2 separate regions of the Homo sapiens genome follow, and region 2 is linked to region 1. The links are contacts of gene promoters, found by promoter capture Hi-C in blood cells and fetal thymus (Javierre and others, 2016). All regions are on one chromosome and are shown on one strand. The core of a region is centred on a gene start or on the middle of the fragment in contact, and the rest is flanking DNA. Distances in the headings are between cores, read along the strand shown. Region 1 holds the start of PEX11A (peroxisomal biogenesis factor 11 alpha). Region 2 overlaps IDH2 (isocitrate dehydrogenase (NADP(+)) 2).

Region 1 (7,818 bases), core at 1,691-4,190:
GAGCTTTGGTCTAATAATAAGGATCAGGCCAACAGTAAGACATTACTTTTATTTATTTATTTTTGAAGTGAACATAAACTCGATTTTATTGTCTTCATAATAAAACAAAAGATGATACTTAGAACTGGATCACTTGGCCCTTTCTCTTCTTATCTCCTCCCAGTTCAAAATGCTGGCATCTTTTAATAGCCAGGATTCTCTTAGATCTTCACTGGGCTCAACACACTCAAGCTTTAGCACAAACTTCTTGGTAGTTTTAGACTTTTTCTGGAAAATCGGCTTAGTCTGCCCACCACAGCCACTCTGCTTCCTGTCATAATGCTGCTTTCCCTGGGCATACAGAGAATCCTTGCTCTTCTTGTACTATGTCACTTTGTGGGGTTGGTGCTTGCCACACTTCTTACAGTCTGACAGGTTTTAGGAATGTTCACCGTGTTTGCATGAGCATTATTGGCACAGAAAGCAAGGTATTATTTTATGAATGCCAGTGTGGTCATAAAGGTTATACAGATCATCAAGGAGGTTGGGAAATGAATGCTAGAGATCTCAGATCTTTTGGAATAAACATATCTTAAATTATTATTATTATTATTTTTCGAGACAGAGTCTCGCTCTGTTGCCCAGGCTGGAGGGTAGTGGTGCGTTCTTGGCTCTCTGCAAACTCCGCCTCCCGGATTCAAGCGATTCTCCTGCCTCAGCCTCCTGAGTAGCTGGGATTACAGGCATGTGCCATCACGCCCAGCTAATTTTTGCATATTTAGTAGAGATGGGGTTTCACCATGTTGGCCAGGCTGGTCCCGAACTCCTGACCTCATGATCTGCCCACCTCAGCCTCCCAAAGTGCTGGGACTACAGGTGTGAGTCACTGAACCCGGCCTAAATGATGATGATTATTATTTTTAATGTTTTTATTTTTTTTTTAGAAGGAGTCTCGCTCTGTTGCCCAGGCTGGAGTGCAGTGGCGTGATCTTGGCTCACTGCAAGCTTTGCCTCCTGGGCTCATGCCATTCTCCTGCCTCAGCCTCCTGAGTAGCTGGGACTGCAGGCGCCCACCACAACGCCCAGCTAATTTTTGTATTTTTAGTAGAGACAGGGTTTCACCATGTTAGCCAGGATGGTCTCGATCTCCTGACTTTGTGATCCGCCCACCTCAGCCTCCCAAAGTGCTGGGATTACAGGTGTAAGCCACTGCACCCGGCCTAAATGATTATTTTTTTAACCAACTTCCTTGATAAACCCTGCAGGGTACATTCTAGGTACACTGGAATTACAGGTTTCTATTTAATGAAATTTCTATTTAATGAAGCTTGTATATAAAGTAACCATTTAAAAAACCTATCAAACTAATGAGAAAGCCAGTATAGCTTGGTAGTTAAGTGGGCACTGGAGTCATTTGCGTGGATGTGAATCCCTCAGTTCTGCCATTGTAGTACCTATTAACCTCTTTCTGCTTCAGTTTCTCCATCTGAAGTGGGTAAAATATTTAGAGTATCTACCTCATAGGGTTGTGATGAGGGTTATATAAGTTCATAGTTGCAAAACACTGGGAACAATAGCTGTCATAAAGATGGCTTCCAAAAGCCTCATTATTGGGGCCATTCTAATTGATCTGTTTGTATCAGCACTTGCACACCCAGAAGAGAATGCAGAGCTGTTAAATAAAACTGCAACTGTAAATATTTTTTCATTAAGCAAGAATCAACCAAATCTCTAAAACATCATGAACTAGTACTGTATTCGTATTAAAGATACAATCTCTCAGTTCTTTTCGTTTCTTATGGAACCAAAAGAAAAAGAGACACAATCTCTGTTTAATATTTTCAGTAGCACAGCATGAACCTTAGAGGTGCAGTTAGTTCTTTCTGAGCTTCTCCCCACTGTATTTCCCCCCAATCCAGTTGGTGTGGTCTCATCCCCGCTATATTTTGTTTTACAATTTACAAAACTATTCCACATGCAGTATCTCAATGATACAGCCTGGGTAATAATGGAAGAGAACTTCTGTCTCTCCTCAAACATTTCAAGAGGTATTTGAGACCGGGCGCGGTGGCTCGCACCTGTAATCCCAGCACTTTGGGAAGCCGAGGTGGACAGATCACCTGAGGTCAGGAGTTCGAGACCAGCCTGGCCAACATGGCGAAACCCCCGTCTCTACTAAAAATACAAAAAGTAGCCGGGCGTGGTAGTGCACGCCTGTAATCCCAGCTACTCAGGAGGCTGAGGCAGGAGAATCGCTTGAACCCGGGAGGCAGAGGTTGCAGTGGGCCGAGACCGCGCCACTGCCTGGGCGACAGAGCGAGACTCCGTCTCAAAAGAAAAAAAAAAGAGAGATATTTGAAGTCACACCAAGTGGTTTGCTTCCCTAGCCACAAATACTAATCCAAAGTTTCTCTTTAAAGGAGATCCCTCGGAAGAATGTTGAGTGGAGAGAACCAATCTTTCTGTGCCCGGAGAGCAAAGTTAGGAGGGGAGGAGGATCTGTCAGCCGGTGTCCCGTCGTCGGCGGTCTCGAGGCGGCTAGGGTGCCAGGCACTGGGGCTTTCGTGCACGGGGCTAGGACGGGACGCGGGTGCGTTGGGCCCACTCACGTTGAATTTAGGGTAAGGAGGGGCTCGGATACTAAACTCCCTCCGTAGGAGCTGGCAACGTCCTTCCTGCTTCCATCTACTAGGCTATCACCTCCTTTTTCCCGGGTGCAGGGGAATAGGCACGGGAGCCGAGTTAGGGCGAGAAAGGGGCGGAGGCCGCTGGCACCTGACTCACCTGAAGAGTCGGTCCCGGCCCTGGGTCTGGTTGGTGAAGCGGGTGAAGGCGTCCATGGCTTCTAGCCCAAAGGCCACGAGTCGCACGGGGCTCAGGCGTGGGTCCTCTGGGGCCCGTCGGATCCCCAGGGAACGGTCAGTCCCAGGTTATCCGCTGAGGGGGAGGGGCTGAGTCTCTCCGCCCCAGAGGGGGCGGGCACACTTTCTGTAGAGCAACTTCGCGGACTTCCGGTTCAAGCCGGAAGTTGTGGTTACCAAGGCGACGCAACGCCGCCCGGCCAGGTGAGCAAAACTGATCTTACCTTTGGATGCCGGGGCTCCCCTCGAGTCCCAGGACTCCCCTTTACCTGTAGAGTCTCCTAGAGGAAAGTCTGAGGGGGTCCGTCTCCCCAGACTCGGGCGTTTCCGGATGCCTGACGCCTCCCCGCAGATCTCAGGTTCTCAGGAACCCGGGGTGATATCCCGAATGGTCTCTCCAGCCTCAGAACTCCCCTGAGCTCTTGCTTGGGACGGTGGGGCCTAATCATTTCCCAGCGCCGTGCCTCTTTCCCTTGAGCTACACCAGCTCTATGTCTGGTGAAGGAAGTGGTTAGGTCAGAGATAAGCCAATTTCACAGTGTGAACCTAGCATGGGAGGCGGATGAAGTGAGAAAATGTTCTGCTTGGATTATTGAACATTGAAAGAAGATTGTTACCTGAGGAAATCCTAAAAGAGTCATTATGAGCAAAGTGAAGCAAAAATAGATTGCAATGAAATTGCACCGCTGAACATTCGTTCTGTGCGGCTTGAAGAAAAGGAGCCTTACCCACTCCGTGGCAGTAATTTTATAAAATGTACCCTCTATAACCACAAAATAAGGTCGGCCGGTGCTGTGGCTTACGCCTGTAATCCCAACACTTTGGGAGCCGAGGTGGGCGGATCACCTGCGATCAGGAGTTGGAGACCAGCCTGGCCAACAGGGTGAAACCCCGTCTCTACTAAAAATACAAAAAAAGTAGCCGGGCGTGGTGGTGGGCGCCTGTAATCCCAGCTACTCGGGAGGCTGAGGCAGGAGAATCGCTGGAACCCAGGAGGCGGAGGTGGCAGTGAGCCGAGATTGTGCCACTGCTTTCCAGCCTGGGCGACAGAGCGAGACGCTGTCTCAAAAAAATAAAATAAAATAAAATAAGGTGAACATTTTCGTAATCTTTATTCCCTTGGTCAGGCCAGCTCCTAACATTTGCAGGCCCTGGGTAAGAGTACAAATGGAGTCCAGCACACCGTATGTTTAAATATTTTAGTTATAAATCAAGCAACAAATTGTAAAGTAAAATATAGTCTGTTTTCCTACATTGACAAATAGACCCTCATAATGATGTAGAAGGCCAGGTTCATCTTCAGAATCCCTAGACTCCTTAGAATACCTGGAAACACAGCTGGAATATGGCAGTGTGGGGAGAAATGGCTCCCAGTCTTTTCCCACTTCCCTTTCTTTTCTGGTTTCTGGTGCCCACCTGCATTCCCTGCCAGGAGCCTTGTATACCATCCTGATACTCCAAGCCACATCCAACGTCTGCCCGTACCTCTGCAAGCAGCCATGCCTTTGCCACCTTTTCAGATCGAGGAGTGCTCACATTAGCAGCTGGGTCTGCCCTCAGGTGAAAGCTGAGAAGGGCTCATGCAGGCCATGGTGTCATTTGGGCAGTAAATTCCAGGGGTATTGGTACCCTGAACATGGTCTAGACTCCAGAAGAGGGAAACTAGGCTTTGGGTGAGCATATCTCCTTGGCCCCATGGGTTACTCATTTTTTGTAGAGGAAAGAGCCTCGAAGAGAGCCAGAAGTTTTCTCTAAATACGTGGCCCAGGTCAGGGCAATTCTGCAAGCAATGAGAATTTATTGAGTCCTGGCCATATACCAACCACTGTGCTAAACTCTAGTCGTAGGGTAATAGGTTAACAAGGAACACAGTAAACTGATAAGTACAACACAGAGATATGTTAGATGATAGAGGTGAGCACAGGGTGCTTCTAAACACAGATGTGTATCATCTGTTTTTTGTTTTTGTTTTTGAGACAGAGTTTTGCTCTTATTGCCCAGGCTGGAGTGCAATGGCGCAATGTCAGCTCACTGCACCCTTCGTCTCCCGGGTTCAAGCGATTCTCCTGCTTCAGCCTCCTGAGCTGGGATTACAGGCATGCGCCACCACGCATGGCTGATTTTTTATATTTTTAGTAGAGATGGTGTTTCACCATGCTGGTCAGGCTGGTCTGGAACTCCTGACCTCAGGTGATCCACCTACCTCGAGCTCCCAAAGTTCTGGGATTACAGGTGTGAGCCACCACGCCTGGCCTCATCTGTTTTTTATACCTACAATTCTGCCTTTTTCACAATATCATATAAATTGAATCATATAGTATGTAGCGTTTTCTTTTCTTTTCTGATTTATTTTACTTAGCATAATGCATTTGAGATTATCTATGTTGTGCACATCAGTAGTTTGTAATTTTTTATTCCACAATGTGAATGTATTATAATTCATTATCCATTCACCCACTGAAGTACATTTGTGTTGTCTCTAATTTGAAGCCATTATAAATAAAGCTGCTATAAATATTTAAGTACAGATTTTGATGTGAAACATAAGTTTTAATTTTCCTACTGTAATATGCAGGAATGTGATTGCTGAAACATATGGTATGTTTAACTTTGTAAGAAACTGCCAAACTGTTTTCCAAAGTGGCTATCCTATTTTGTATTACCACTGACAATGCGTGAGAGCTTATCTGTTTGCCTGTTGGTGGACATTGGGTTGTTTCCACTTTGGGGCTCCTACAAATAAAGTTGTAATGACTGTTCGTGTACAAGTCTTTGTATGGACATATGTTTTCAGTTCCCTTCTACCACTCCTAAGAGTGGAATGACTGGATATGATGGTAGATAATGTGTTTAACTGTCCTGCAGGGGACAGGCCTATGCAAACCTACCCCTAAAAGTCTGAGAAAGCTGAGAGGCCAAAGCAAGAGGCTGACATACCCAGTTTCTCAGAAACAAACATTTAATAAATAAATACAATTTAAACAAACAAACAGAAGCCATGTCTCAGGAGCAAGACAAGATGGTGGATCCCTGCCATTATCCACCAGACCCAGGGTTTCTGTGCTATAGAGAAAGGTGCTTCAGAAGGAATGTGTAAGATAATTGCTTAAGGACAGAATTTATGGCAAGAATGATAACATCAAGGTTGTTTTGACCTAAGGGCAATATTTACAGTAAGTGGTGCTCTTACACAAGGAATGAGTCAAATGGAAATCTTAGAGGTTTTTCTGGAACTGGGGATAATCAGAAGTTAACATGGAGGATTAGCATCTAAGATGGAGTTGCTTTGGCCTCCACATTAGCGTTTTAAGAAATTGCCAAACTGTTTTCCAAACCAGTTGTACTATTTTGGTTTCCCAATAGTGTGTATGAGCATTCTTATTGTACATCTTCAACAACACTTTCATGGTCTATCTTTTTAACTTTAGGCATTTTAATATACGTGTAGTGGTATCTCATGATTTTAATTTGCATTTCACAAATGACTAATGATGCTGAACATCTTTTTATGAGTCTATCTGCCATCTGTATATCTTCTTTGGTTAAGTATCTGTACAAATTTTTTGCACATATTTAAAAATTGTTGGGTTATTTCTTTTTTTTTTTTTTTTTTTTGAGATGGAGTCTCGCTCTGTCGCCCAGGCTGGAGTGCAGTGGCACGATCTCGGCTCACTGGTTTCACACCATTCTCCTGCCTCAGCCCCCCGAGTAGCTGGGACTACAGGTGCCCACCGCCATGCCCAGCTAATTTTTTGTATTTTTTAGTAGACATGGGGTTTCACCATGTTACCCAGGATGGTCTCGCTCTCCTGACCTCATGATCTGCCCGCCTTGGCCTCCCAAAGTGCTGGGATTACAGGCGTGAGCCACTGCACCCGGCCGGGTTACTTCTTTTATTACTGAGTTTTGAGAGTTTTAAAAATACTCTGGACAAAAGTACTTTATCAGATAAGTGACTTGCACATATATTTTCTCCCCATCTGAGGATTACCTTTTATTCTCTTAACAGTGTGTTTTGAAGAAACACAAGTTTATTTTTGAAAAGGTTTAAATGACCAGTTTGTTCTTTTTAGGTTATACTTTAATGTCATATCTAGGAAATCTTTGTCTAAGAGAAGATTGCCAAAGTTTTCTTCTAGAAGTTTTATAGTTTTCAGTTTTACATTTAGGTGTATGATTTTACTTTGAGTTAATTTTTGCATATGGTGCAAGGTATGGATCGGCATTCATTTTTTTCCTATATAGATATCTAATTGCTCCAGCATTATTTGCTGAAAAGAATATCCTTTTTCCACCGAATTGTCTTTGTGCTTGTGTCAAAAATAAGTTCTCCATATATGTTTGCATCTAATTTAGGACTCCCTATTTGATTTCATTGATCTGTTTGTTTATTTTGATACCAATACCACACTGTCTTGAATATTGTAACTTTGTGATAAGTCTTGAAATTAAGTAGTGTTAGTCCTCCAATTATGAGTTGTAAAGTTAGCTTCTTAATTTCTGGAAAAAAAAAAGCCACCTGGGATTATCATAGGGATTGTGTTGAATTTGTACATGAATTTGAAAAGAATTGACATTTTAACAAAATTGAGTCTTCCAACTCATAAATAAGGTATCACACTCTCCATTTATTTAGGTCTTCTTTAATTTCTGTCAGCAATATTTTATAGTTTTCAGTATGTGGGTGGGTGTTTTTTAGAGAGGGAGTTTCGCTGTATTGCCCAAACTGGAGTGCAGCAACATGATCATAGCTCACTGCAACCTTGAACTCCTGGACTCAAAGCAATCCTCTCACCTCAGCCTGCTGAGCTGCTAGAATTACAGGTGCAAGCCACCTTGCCTAGCCCAGGATACAGGTTTTATATATCTTTTGTCAGATTTATCCCTAAGTAGTTCATGTTTTTGATACTGTTGTAAATGGTATTTTTATTTCAATGTTTGGTTTGTTATTGCCAGTACATAGAAATACAATCAGTTT
Region 2 (7,818 bases), core at 301-2,800, 400 kb after region 1:
CACTCCCCCGTCTGCAAATCAGCTCCCTCACTGCTTAGAGCAGGGGTCCCCAACTCCCAGGCCATGGACTAGTACCGTGGGCTCTGGAGAGAGGTCAGCAGACCAGGCCACAGCCTTTAGTGCAGGTCCACGGACTGTTGGGAACTGGGCCACACAGCAGGAGGAGAGCTGCAGGTGAGTGAGCACTACTACCACCTGAGCTCATGCCTGGGAACTGCGCACACGAGGGATCTAGGTTGCATACTCCTTATGAGAATCTAATGCCTGATGATCTGTCACTGTCTTCCAGCACCTCCAGATGGGACTGTCTAGTTGCAGGAAAGCAAGCTCAGGACCCCCCGATTGTACATTATGGTGAGCTATATAATTTTTTCATTATATATTACAATGTAATAATAATAGAAATAAAGTGCACAATAAATGTAATGCACTTGACTCATCCCAAAACCATCCCCGCTGCCCACCACCCTGCCACCCGTGGAAAAATTGTCTTCCATGAAACTGGCCCCTGGTGCCAAAAACTTTGGGAACTGCTGGTTTAGAGCACCTGGATCCATCCATCCTTACTTACTTCCTTTCCTTTCTTTCCTTCCTTTCCTTTCTTTCCTTCCTTCCTTCCTTTCGTTCCTTCCTCCCTTTCTCTCTCTCTTTCTTGGCAGGGTCCTGTTCCATTGGTCAGGCTGGAATGCACTGATGCCATCATAGCTTACTGCAGCATTGACTTCCTGGCTTCAAGTGATCCTCTGACCTCAGCCTCCCAAGTAGCTGGGACTACAGGCGCATGCCACCACACCCAGCTATTTTTAATTTTTTTTTTTTCTGAGACGAAGTTTCGCTATTGTCCCCCAGGGTGGGAGTGCAGTGGCATGATCTCAGCCCACTGCAACCTCCGCCTCCCGAGTTCAAGTGATTCTCGGGCCTCAGCCTCCCAAGTAGCGGGGATTTCAGGTGTGCACCACAACACCTGGCTAATTTTTTGTATTTTTAGTAGAGACAGGGTTTCACCATGTTGGCCAGGCTGGTCTCAAACTCCTGACCTCAAGTGATCCACCTGCCTTGACCCCCGCAAAGTGCTGGGATTACAGGCGTGAGCCACCGTGCCAGCCTAATTTTAAAATTTTTTTGTAGAGATGGAGTCTTGCCCTGTTGCCCAGGCTGGCTGGACTCCCCACCCCACCCCCACTTTAATCTGGCTAGGTAGAACTACCCAAAAACATGCCCAGCCCACCAGTGGCCAAGAGGGTGGGGGCCAGTCTGGCCTGTCAGACCCTCTCCCCCTGGAATATGAAGGCAGAGGAGATCAACACAAAGAACACTGGCTAGCTGCGGCTGCCTCATCCAGCACCAAATCAGTAAGAGGTTGTCCAGGGGCTCCTGCCATCCAGTTCCTAAGGAGGGCCTGGGTCCTCTTTTATGTATTTACTTATTGTTTAGAGTCAGGGTCTCTTTATCTCTCTCTGTTGCCCAAGCCAGGCTCAGACTCCGGGGCTCAAGCAATCCTTGCACCTCAGCCTCCTTAGTAGCTGGGGCTACAGGCCCATGCCAAGATATTACTTTTGTCCAAGACTTAGTTCTTTATAGTTTTCCCTGCAATTCTATGAGCTACGCTGTGTAGCTCATAATAAAATCCTCTCCAAGTTAACCAGTCACTAACTTTGTCTGTTGCGTGCAACCCAAGAGCCCTCAACTAACTTGTGGTGATAAAGGAAATAGTATAGATAGGTATTGAGTGCCTACTATGTGCCTTACAGTGTACCAATGCTGTACAATGTGATTCCATTTAATCCCAAAAACAACCCCAAGGAGGTATCATTACCTCCATTTTATTTAATTAATTAATTTATTTATTTATTTATTTATTTTTTGAGACAGAGTCTTTGGTCTGTCACCCAGGCTGGAATGCAATGGCGTGATCTCGGCTCACTGCAACCTCTGCCTCCCGGGTTCAAGCGATTCTGCTGTCTCAGCTTCCTGAGTAGCTGGGATTACAGGCACACGCCACCAGGCCCGGCTAATTTTTGTATTTTTAGTAGAGACGGGGTTTTGCCATGTTGGCCAGGCTGGTCTCGAACTCCTAGCCTCAGGTGATCCACCCACTTTGGCCTCCCAAAGTGCTGGGATTACAGGCGTGAGCCACCACGCCTGGCCATTATCTCCATTTTAAGTGTGGGAAACTGAGGCTCAGAGAGGTTAACAGCTTACTGCCCAAGGTTACAGAGCTTGAAAACAGCAGAGTCACGAGGACTCTGACCCTATTCAACAGGAAGGACAGGCTTACAGCACCTGCGAATGGAACTCAGAACCCTTGATCCCAGCCGACGCAGGTGGGTCAGTCCTACCAGAGAAGCATCAAAGGACTCAATGAGGGGCTGATCAGAGGTCCAGGGAGACCAGTGGAGGGTAGGGGGCAGGGGACGCTACTGAAGGAGAGTCTGACTCGCAGGAATACCCAACAGTCTGGGAAGTGAATTTCAAAGAAAACTCAGGAACTGGCCACCTAACAATGAATCAGTACAGCTGCCTTGGACAAGGCTTGTTGAACCTCAGCCTGCAGCAGATAGGGGCACCGGGGCACCAGCCTGCTCCTCTGCCCACAGCCTGGGAAGAAGCAGCAAATGCAGAGCAGGGAACAAGATCTAATAAAACTTCAGTCACAGGGAAATCTCACCAGCTCAGCTGAGAGCTGTGCCCTTTCCTCAAAGCAGCACTCCTCAGCCTCACTTACAGCCCAATTACTCTTGTGTTACACACAGTCCTTAGAGAGGTGGTGATGTGTCTTCAGCTCCACTCTAGATTAGACACAGCAAATCAGGTGAAGGGAAGAGAATGATTATTTGAAAACACTGGGTTGGGGCTGGGTGTAATGGCTCATGCCTGTAATCCTAGCACTTTGGGAGGCTGAGGCAGGTGGATCACTCAAGGTAAGGAGTTCAAGACCAGCCTGGCCAACATGGTGAAACCCCATCTCTACTAAAAATAGAAAAATTAGGCATGGTGGCACGTGCCTATAATCCCAGCTACCGAGGAGGCTGAGGCAGGAGAATCGCTTGAACCCGGGAGGTGGAGGTTGCAGTAAGCCAAGATCACGGCACTGCACTCCAGCCTGGGCAACAGAACGAGACTCCATCTCAAAAAAACAAACAAACAAACAAAAAAAACTGGGTGGGAAGAACTGACAAGGGACAGAATACCTGTGAAAAGCAGGCCTAGAAACCACCTCGGCACATTTAAAACAAAAGTGATTAAAGCCTAACAGACCTCAAACAACTGACTTTCCAAAGATATGCAAAGAGTTTGTTTTTTTTTTTTAATCTAAAAATAATCTTAGAGATCATTTAGGGGGAATAATGAGACTCAGAGAGTGTGGTCTGCATCAGAGGCAAGATAGAGCCCAGGTCCCTGACCCAAATGCAGCCTCTGGAAGACCCGTGGGTCAGATGTAGAGAAGCAGAACACAAACACAGCCTTGGACTATTCCATTCCCTAGAGAACAAAAGGTGGCTGGCTGCTGGCTCTACTGCCTTTCCCAAGACGCGATGGGGATTTTGAACCCAATCTACAATATTCCTTCACTTTTTTCTGAAGCTTGAGTGGAAAGAGCTGCAGAACCTGCGGAAAGTCTGTTGAGCTGTTGCAGAGCTAGTTTAGTTCTGGGGAGCATCTCCTATGAGTTAATTTGAGGACAGCTAATCAAATTTGTTAAAAAAAAAAAAAAATGAACTATCATAATCAGGAGCCCTAAGGAGAGACTCACTTGGGGCCAGTTCTTCAGGTTTCAGCCTCAGCCTGGGCTCCACGGTTGGGCTTCAGGCAGGCATGGCTAGGAGAGTTCAAGGTCAAGATCAAAGACCTGATGTGTCAAACCCTCAGAGACCACAGGACCTGATTATTTACTCACCGGCAGGTGCTAACTAAGCACTTATCCAGTACCCCACTGGGATACTGAAATGCCTAAAACACAACAGTGCCTGCCCGGAGGCAGTGAATGTGGAAGGGGAAACCTACAGGTAACAGAGAGAGAGCAAGCAGGGCTGTCACCAAAGTCAGGAGTGCCCAGGCCTCCCTGGAAGCAAACATCCCAGGGGAACTGAGAACAGCAACATGAGCCAAGGCCAGCAGAGACTTGTTCTGCTTGTTCCAGGTACTGGTTTTTTAAAAAAATCTTAATTGGTGACCAAGTTTTAAAAATCAGTAAATCTCAACAATAAAACAAATAACTCAACGTTAAAATGGACAGAAGACTGGCTGGGCACCGTGGCTCATGCCTGTAATCCCAGCACTTTGGAAGGCTGAAGAGGGCAGATCACTTGAGGTCAGGAGTTCGAGACCAGCCTGGCCACAATGGTGAAACTCTGTGTCTACTAAAAATAGAAAAAAAATTAGCCTGGTGTGGTGACACACACCTGTAGTCCCAGCTATTTGGGAGGCTGAGGCAGGAGAATTGCTTGAACCCAGGAGGTGGAGGTTGCAGTGAGCAGAGATCATGCCACTGCACTCCAGCCTGGGTAACAGGAAGACTCCATCTCAAAATAAATAAATAAATATAATGGACAAAAGACTTAAATAGACATTTCAAGTCCAAAGATGATATACAAATGGCCAACAAGCACATGAAAAGATGCTCAACATCACTAATCATCAGGGAAATGCAAATCAAAACCATAATGAGATATCACCCCACTATCCCCTCACAACCACTAAGAGAGCTACTATCAGGAAAAGAAAAACAAAACAGAAAATAAAGTGCTAGCAAGGATGTGGAGAAATTGGAACTCTTGTGCCCTGTTGGTGGGAATGTGAAATGGTGCAGCTGCTGTGGAAAACAGTATGGGTGTTCCTTAGCTAAAAGGAAAAGAATTACTGCCGGGCACGGTGGCTCGCACCTGTAATCCCAGCACTGTGGAAGGCTGAGGCGGGTGGATCACGAGGTCAGAAGATCGAGACCATCCTGGCTAACACAGTGAAACCCTGACTCTACTAAAAATACAAAAAATTAGCCAGGCGTGGTGGCAGGCGCCTGTAGTCCCAGCTACTGGGGAGGCTGAGGCAGGAGAATGGCATGAACCCGGGAGGCGGAGCTTGCAGTGAGCTGAGATCGCGCCACTGCACTCCAGCATGGGCGAAAGAGAGCAAGACTCCGTCTCGAAAAAAAAAAAGAAAAGAAAAGGACAAGAATTACTATATGATCCAGCAATTCTGCTTCTGTATATACATCCAAAAATATCGAAAGCGGGGTCTGAAAGAGATATATGTATGCCCACATTCATAGCAGCAATGTTCACAACAGCAAAAGATAGAAGCAACCCACGTGTCCATCACAGATGAATGGATAAAGACAATGTGATACAGTCCCCCCTTATCAAAGGTTTTATTTCCATGACGTCAGTTACCTGTGGTGTCAGTTACCCACAGTCAACCATAGTCTGAAAATAGGTGAGTACAGTACAGTAAGATATTTTAAGAGATCACATTCATGTAACTTTCATTACAGTATATTGTTATAATTGTTCTATTTTATTACTAGTTATTATTGCTAATCTCTTACTGTTCCTAATTCATAAATTAAACTTTATCATAGATCTGTATGTATAGGAAAAAAACATAGTATCTACAGGCTTTGCAGTTTCAGGTATCCACTGGGGATCTTGAAATGCATCCTCCAAGGATAAGGGGGACTACTGTTATCTACATACAATGGAATATGATTCAGCCTTGAAAAGAAGGGAAATTCTGACACCTGCTACAAAGTGGATGAACCTGGGGGGCATTATGCTAACTAAGTGAAATAAACCAGTCACAAAAGACAAATACTATATGCTTCTACTTACATGAGGTACCTAGAATAGTCAAATTCATAGAAACAGAAAGTAAAAAGGTGGCTGCCAGGGACTGGGGACGGGAAGTGGGGAGGTATTGTTTCATGGGTAGAGAGTTTCGGTTTTGCAAGGTGACAAAGTTCTGGTGATGGATGGTGGTAATGTCTGCACAACAGTGCGAATGTACTTAACAATACTGTACACTGAACAATGACTAAGATGGTAAGTTTTATACGTTTTTTACCAAAATAATAAAAATTTAAACCAGTCAAAAAAAATCAGGAGATTTTATATAAAAATCTAGAAATGCAGCAGGCACTCACTCATGGCAAGGATGGGCTGGGCTGAAGGCGGCCTCTCCCTTCACTCCATGACAGCCAAGTGCCCTCCAGTGTGGCCCAGGGCACTGGAGTTTGAGACCCCTGTCTGCTGTTCAGCCTGTATGGTGGAGATACAGCCATGGTCTGCCCTTCTCTGAGAGATAAGTGGTGACAAGCTACCTGAAATACACAGAGCAGCAGCTAGGCCTCCCTGAAAACCTCCGAAGTGACAGCCACCACGAATCTTCAGCTGATGCATTGCACAAACACTGTCCTCTTGGCGAGAGTGCAGGATGGAATTACACCAGTCACCAGAGGCACGTTAGGCTGACTCTCCTCCCTGTCTGGGGCTCCTAGCACCCAATACCAAGTAAGGATTTCAAAACACATCCCTGGCTTCTTGCTGCTCCCAGCAGGAGGCTAGAGGTCCAGCCGCAGGCAGCCAGCCCCAGGCATAACTGCTCCCTCCACATTCCTACCCATGCTCTCAGCAGAAAGGCTGCTCAGTCAGCATGTCCCAGCAAAAGATCAGAGAGTGGGGAAAGGTTCCAATTCCTGGGGGCTCAAGAAGGCAGGACAGCAACTTTGTATATTTTATGTATGTATGTATGTATGTATGCATGCATGTATGTATGTATGTATGTATGTATGTATTGAGACAGAGTCTCACTCTGTCGCCTACACTGGAGGGCAGTGGCGTGATCTCGGCTCACTGCAAGCTCCACCTCCTGGGTTCAGGCAATTCTCCTGCCTCAGCCCCTGAGTAGCTGGGACTACAGGCGCCTGCCACCACACCCAGCTAATTTTTGTATTTTTAGTAGAGACCGGGTTTCACCATGGTGGCCAGGCAGGTCTCGAACTCCTGGCCCCAACTGATCCGCCTGCTTCGGCCTCCCAAAGTCCTGGGAGCCACCGCACGCGGCCAGAACAGCCATTTTGGAACAAACTCTAGTAGACTCCTTGGTGTCATCCTTCATTCCTTCCCTTCTCTCACATCCAAACCACCAAAACCAGAAGCCACCCTCAGACAAGCCCACCCTTGCCATAAGTGAGTGCCTGCTGCGTATCTAGATTTTTATGTAAAATCGCCTGAATTGGAACCTTTCCCCACTACTGGCTCCTCCTTCAAAATATATCCAGAATCCAACCACTTCTTCACCATCCCCAGCGCCACCACCCAGGTCCAAGCCATCATCCTCTCTTGCCAGGTCCCTGAAGCTAGAATGCTCCCGATAAGATGGAAATCAGGTAACGATACTCCTCTCAAAACCCTGCAAAGTAAAAGCGAAAGCTCTCAAAAATGGCCTGTGAGCCCTCTACAGACCCCACTGCCGAACCTCATCCTGTCACTCCACCTGGTGCCTGCTGAGCCAGCCTTCGCACCATCCTCTCTGCTCTTCCATCATGCCCTTGGCACCTGCGAGTCCCTCTTCCCCCAATACCGAAAATGGCCTGCTTCCTCCCCTCCTCAGCGATTCCTTCAGTGAGGACTTTTCTGGCTGCCCTATACAAACTTTTGTGCACACACCTTTCTTGCCTGTTTCTCCTTAGCTCTTCTCTTTTTGGGGGGAGAAGGGGGAGGCAGGGTCTTGCTTTGTCACCCAGGCTAGAGTGCAGTGGCACAATTGTACCTCACTGCAGCCTTGACCTCCTGGGCTCAAATGATCCTCCTGAGTAGCTAA

Evidence for each region. The method cuts DNA at HindIII sites, captures the fragments that hold promoters and counts their contacts. A CHiCAGO score of 5 or more calls a contact.
Region 2: a contact is called between a fragment that was not itself captured here and the fragment with the promoter of PEX11A in region 1, in 1 of 17 cell types (megakaryocytes). The highest score is 5.1, in megakaryocytes.

Annotation. Positions count from the first base shown.
Region 1 is chr15:89,687,814-89,695,631 of GRCh38, forward strand. It overlaps PEX11A (peroxisomal biogenesis factor 11 alpha), which reads right to left and starts at 2,941. Exons shown (of 3, transcript NM_003847.3): 1 at 2,764-2,941. The coding sequence starts at 2,819. WDR93 (WD repeat domain 93) reads left to right here and starts at 2,998. Exons shown (of 17, transcript NM_020212.2): 1 at 2,998-3,044. It also overlaps the pseudogene RPL36AP43. RefSeq lists an enhancer at 2,776-2,865. The HindIII fragment of the contact is 13,947 bases long and covers 1,305-7,818 here.
Region 2 is chr15:90,091,772-90,099,589 of GRCh38, forward strand. The region is part of intron 1 of IDH2 (isocitrate dehydrogenase (NADP(+)) 2); the gene reads right to left. Among named protein-coding and RNA genes, the nearest start is that of IDH2-DT, 6.5 kb to the right of the region's middle. RefSeq lists an enhancer at 3,655-4,179. The HindIII fragment of the contact is 4,065 bases long and covers 1-3,583 here.